2 separate regions of the Homo sapiens genome follow, and region 1 is linked to region 2. The links are contacts of gene promoters, found by promoter capture Hi-C in human tissues and cell types (Jung and others, 2019). All regions are on one chromosome and are shown on one strand. Each heading gives the region's core, a stretch centred on a gene start or on the middle of the fragment in contact. The rest is flanking DNA. Distances are from core to core; before and after follow the strand shown. Region 1 overlaps OTOGL (otogelin like). Region 2 holds the start of PAWR (pro-apoptotic WT1 regulator).

Region 1 (2,700 bases), core at 41-2,540, 600 kb before region 2:
TAGCTTTTTAAAATATTTGAATTATCACTTTGATTAAATGACTAATTTTGCAGTTACCTGTGACTCTTATTTTGCAATATCAAGTGTTTTAAGCCTTTGATATTTGATAACCTTTCCAAATTCTAAATTCAGTCTTTTGGCCTCAAACTAACTTTTTGGGTATTAGGGCTCCTGAAGTCCGAGACAGACATATTCATCTTCGTTGGTATGTTAAAATTACACCAGAATCATTGTCAAATATGAAATGGTGTTTAACTTTCTTTGAGTTATTTTTATATGAATGTGTCATTAATATATGTTCCAAAATTATATAAGATTCATATAGTTCTGGTATGTCTTAATCTATGTTATCAGGAATAATTATGACTATTACATTAAATTATTGTATGCCACAGAAATAATCAAATTTCCTTGTCTATTGTGTCTTTAACCGTGGCTAGTCTAAGACTTTTGTCATGCACAGACAATTATTGTTTTACTTTTATTCTTCTCAAAAAGCACTTTATAATCAGCTGCAGTCCACAACTTGCTTCCTTAAGGAAGTTTGTGGAAAGGACTCTGACAGGTGCTCTTGAAGGCAGGTTTCTGATTACTTTGGAGATTGTGCCATCAGACTAGAGAGAAAACTTCTGGGATTCTCACTGGAGGGCAGATGTGTTCATGAGGATTGCTGGCCCAATACTGGGCAGAACAAGAGTTAACTGCATGGGACTGAACTAACAGAAGGCTGAAATGTTTTCTTATGACTTGTTTGTTTGAAACATTGGGCTTCTTTACGTTTTGTTTTCTAAAGTCAAGAAAACATTTCTGCTGGGCGTAGTGGCTCATGCCTGTAATCTCAGCAATTTGGGAGGCCGAGGCAGGCTGATCTCCTGAGGTCAGGAATTCAAGACCAGCCTGACCAACATGGAGAAACCCCGTCTCTACTAAAAATACAAAATTAGCCAGGTGTGGTGGCGCATGCCTGTAATCCCAGCTACTTGGGAGGTTGAAGCAGGATAATTGCTTGAACCTAGAAGGTGGAGGTTGTGGTGAGCCAAGATTGCACCACTGCACTCCAGCCTGGGCAATAAGAGTGAAACTCCATCTCAAAAAAACAAAAAAAGAAAAAGAAAAGAAAAGAAAAAGAAAAAAAAGAAAAGAAAATATTTCTTTCTTTTGAGCTATTTATAGCTTACAACAAATTGAGTAAAGTATGCTCTTGTGAGCAAAATTTGAGGCATATTTCTTTCTATCTGATTTCTCCAGAATTTAAAAATCATTTGTGAGTATTCTTAAATTATGGCAATATAGCTATTTGCATAAGTTCAATAAGAATCTATTTTCTGTTGTAACAGGAAACAGTTGGAGACGCTGGTTATTTTACCACAGCTTTGACTAGGATGGAATATTTACAGATATGACTGGACTGCTTTGGGGAATTTAAGTTGACATTATAGAGCTGACCAAAGCCTCTCGTACAGACTGGCCTGACACCTTGTTTATGCAATTCCTTTACAATGTTTGTGACCTGTAGTAAGTAAAGCACATCACTTTCTGACAGGCTTAGGAACCCCAAGTTATTTTAGAACCTCAAGAAGAGAGAAATTAACCCAATTCATATAGGTATTTGCAGGCACATATAAATCCTTAGCTGGCTAACCTCAAGAGGCTTTTAAAAGGTCTAATCTGAGATTATGAAAAAGTTACAACAAAGCCAACGTAAAAGAGCCTATATGAACAATAATTATTCTTGCTGCATTTTATGCAAATAATCAAGCCAAATATACTACGATTAAAACTTATTTTGCAAGTACATTGGTCCTGTTATGATTTGTCTTTCATAGAAATGAGGAACTGAGAGAGAGAAAAATATCATTTGAAAAGAAACTATGGTACGTCTTTTATTAGTTTCTGGCCTTGTCCATTATTTATTAGTTGATATTATTTCTCTACAATTAAACATAAACACAAGATTATAGTTTCCTCTTGCCAGGACTCAGAGTTAAGACAAATACTCTACTTGAAATATTTTCTGCACAATCAGTATTTGAAATGACAATGATAAATGCTACATTTTCTCTACTAAAAAAAGAAAATGAGAGTAACAGGAGAAAATACTAACAAGTAGTTATTGAGTTCACCAAATGCCCAGCATTCTGCAAAATGACTTAGAAAGAATAACAAGAAATATAAGGCATTGTCCCCACCATCAAAACCTTAGAATTTTCTTAGAGAAATCTGTCTTAATATGGAGTATAAATAGTAGATATGTCTTTACTGGCATGCTTTACATTTAATAGGCCCCTAAAATTGTTTTATTAAATGAATGAAATAATAATGTGAACAAAGATCACCACCATACATTGGAAAATATTTGTAGAGATGCTGAAACATGAACAAGATTTTTAATGCTTTTGGTAGAAATGTGCAAATATTTTTTCCATATACAAAATGAAAAATAAAGCTTCACAGAATCTTTGTGTTACTACTTAAAATGATACCATAAACAAACATCTTTAACAGTAATGATATATCCAATGGGAACATGTCATGTTTGACATTATATTGTCAGCAAAACTTTCTTTTTTCTGAATGTAACTTAAATTTGACTATGCAGAAGAAGAGAAATAATTTCAAAAATAATTAAAATCAGGTTGTTAAAGAAAGTAAAATGTTCTACATCCTTACTACTCAAAATATGGTCCATAGACATGGAGC
Region 2 (2,710 bases), core at 157-2,656:
GGGGTTGGTACTAGCTTAGGTAAACAGCCGCTCAGCCTTTTAGACCTATTCCCAACAAAAGCTTTTAATTTTCTAAGGATTTTTCCAGAGCTCTCGCCATACGTTTCCCACAACAGCCAGACCAAAGACCAAAACTGTCTTTCCCTGAGAAATATAGAGCATGTGAATCACTTTCTTCTGTTCCCAGTTCTGTGGCAGGCAAACACTGATTGCTCACTCATCATGTGCTACCTGGGCAAAACAGGAATATTAAGTAGGAAGAAAGGTTTATGTTAGGTAAGAGCGTGACTTAGGGCTCTCCTACTTTTTTACAAAATGGAGACCTGGCATTTGTAGCCTCCCACAATGATGTGCCCTGACATTACTTGGATATAGAAAGGTCAGTCTTAGGTGCGTCAGTGACAGCCCACCCCGCTCTGATCCAGAAATTTCAGATGACTTGCATCAGAGGATAAGCCTCTGGCATGTTAATAATGAAAAAATAGAGACAATCACTGCCCCAGCTCATCTCAAATTAGCATCAGTGCAGCGTTAGTACTTTGGTAGGGAGCTTTGCTGCTAAATTCATTCTCTGTAAAGAGGAGAGGCAGAGACAGGGTTAAGGGGAAAACTCCAAGACTGGAATCGCCAATACAATAAACTGTCGAACTGAGTTTTTTCTCCCGCAACCCTAAGATACTAGTAAGTCCTTCCTCTTAGCCAACCCTTTTCACCAGGGCACCGCAGTTTTCTTAGAAGGAGGGTGCTGGGTTTGTCTCAGGTCTTTCTATTCTCCTGCCCGCTGCCCTAGTACATCTGAAAAGGGAGCAGCGACTAGGAAAAGAGACACGTGGGTATTTTCCCATCCTGTCTAGTCATTCCCTGAATCATCACAAGTTATCGCACTTTTCCCCTTAGCCAGCAGCGTTCGAGACTTTCTCTCAAATAATACGGTCTTGTACTTAAAAGGAAGAGTGGTGGGAGAAGAGAGAGGCGGAGAAGACAAGCAAGAAGGGCGTGGAGTGCCGTTCCCGCCCCGGAGTCGGAGGCGCCGGGAGGCCGGACGCCGCGAAGCTGCTAGCCCAGGAATGTGCCGTCTAACTCGCAGGCCGCGGGCGGAGCGCGGCGGGCGCGCTGTGGTCTGCGGCGGGAGCGGGGCAGAGGACGGCTGGCGCAGGGCAGGCTGCAGCGGCGGGCCGGACGCGACGCCGCGCACCTGAGCGCCGGGGGCGGGGCGTCAGCGGCCACGACCCTTCCCACCGCGCGCCGCGCCCCTCGCGCGCCGCCTCGGCCTTTTCCGCTCGTGCTTCGGCGCCGCTCGGCTCCCTTCCCGCCCCTGGCTCCCTCCCTCCCTCCCTCCCTCCTTCTTCTCCCTCCCTCCTGTCCTGGGATTGCCTGGAGCTCCGCACCGCGAGTTTGCCGCGGCACTTTCCGCGCGGCGGAAGAGCGCGCGCCAGCTTCGGCACACCTGGGAGCCGGATCCCAGCCCTACGCCTCGTCCCCTACAAGCTCCTCCAAGGTAAGGCGCTCGCTCACACCCGGTCCTTTCCACGCTCGGCGGGACAGCTGGGTCCCCGCCTCCTCTGCGAACCGGCTAGGAGCTCCGCGCCTCGCCTTGGGAGTGGGGTTGTAGCTGACGGGGACCTCGGACCGGCGGTGGCTAGAGCGCGGAGCAGGCGATACGACGAGCCGACAGGTGGCGGGTCTAGCCCTAGTATCTCGACCGCCGCCGGCGCGGACCTTGGTGGGGATGGGGCGGGCGGGCCGACTTGGGGGTGGGGTCAGTCCTCTCTCCTCCCTTCTAGGGGCGGCGATCGTCGGGGTCCGTACTGTAGGTGCGTGGGAGAAACTTTGCAGGGTGGGGACCCGGCGGCTGCTGGCCGGTAGTGACTGGTGGGCGCGCTCGAGGACTCCAAGGGGCGCAGCCCGGGGGCAGACCCTTGGGTCGGGCGGGGATCTTACGCTTCCCTTACCCGCCCCCTTTTGTCTTTCACCTCAGCCCCGCCGGCTGCTGTGGGAGCGGCGGCCGTCCCTCTCCTGGAGGTCGTCTCCTGGCATCCTCGGGGCCGCAGGAAGGAAGAGGAGGCAGCGGCCGGAGCCCTGGTGGGCGGCCTGAGGTGAGAGCCCGACCGGCCCCTTTGGGAATATGGCGACCGGTGGCTACCGGACCAGCAGCGGCCTCGGCGGCAGCACCACAGACTTCCTGGAGGAGTGGAAGGCGAAACGCGAGAAGATGCGCGCCAAGCAGAACCCCCCGGGCCCGGCCCCCCCGGGAGGGGGCAGCAGCGACGCCGCTGGGAAGCCCCCCGCGGGGGCTCTGGGCACCCCGGCGGCCGCCGCTGCCAACGAGCTCAACAACAACCTCCCGGGCGGCGCGCCGGCCGCACCTGCCGTCCCCGGTCCCGGGGGCGTGAACTGCGCGGTCGGCTCCGCCATGCTGACGCGGGCGGCCCCCGGCCCGCGGCGGTCGGAGGACGAGCCCCCAGCCGCCTCTGCCTCGGCTGCACCGCCGCCCCAGCGTGACGAGGAGGAGCCGGACGGCGTCCCAGAGAAGGGCAAGAGCTCGGGCCCCAGTGCCAGGAAAGGCAAGGGGCAGATCGAGAAGAGGAAGCTGCGGGAGAAGCGGCGCTCCACCGGCGTGGTCAACATCCCTGCCGCAGAGGTGAGCCGGGCGGGGGCCGCAGCCGGACCGGGCCGGGGCGGGCAGCTGCCTCCCGGTGTCTTCCTCCTG

The links. The method cuts DNA at HindIII sites, captures the fragments that hold promoters and counts their contacts. A contact is called where the count stands out against the background at its distance.
Region 1: a fragment that was not itself captured here is called in contact with the fragment with the promoter of PAWR in region 2 in 1 of the 25 tissues and cell types used here (H1 embryonic stem cells).

What each region holds. Positions count from the first base shown.
Region 1 is chr12:80,290,396-80,293,095 of GRCh38, reverse strand. All of the region lies in intron 26 of OTOGL (otogelin like), which reads right to left. Among named protein-coding and RNA genes, the nearest start is that of PTPRQ, 150 kb to the left of the region's middle. The HindIII fragment of the contact is 3,694 bases long and covers 1-2,700 here.
Region 2 is chr12:79,689,660-79,692,369 of GRCh38, reverse strand. It overlaps PAWR (pro-apoptotic WT1 regulator), which reads left to right and starts at 1,406. Exons shown (of 7, transcript NM_002583.4): 1 at 1,406-1,498; 2 at 1,979-2,641. The coding sequence starts at 2,126. It overlaps PPP1R12A-AS2 (PPP1R12A antisense RNA 2), which reads right to left and starts at 2,338. Exons shown (of 7, transcript NR_187531.1): 1 at 1,974-2,338. RefSeq lists silencers at 1,109-1,408, 2,179-2,698. The HindIII fragment of the contact is 10,737 bases long and covers 1-2,710 here.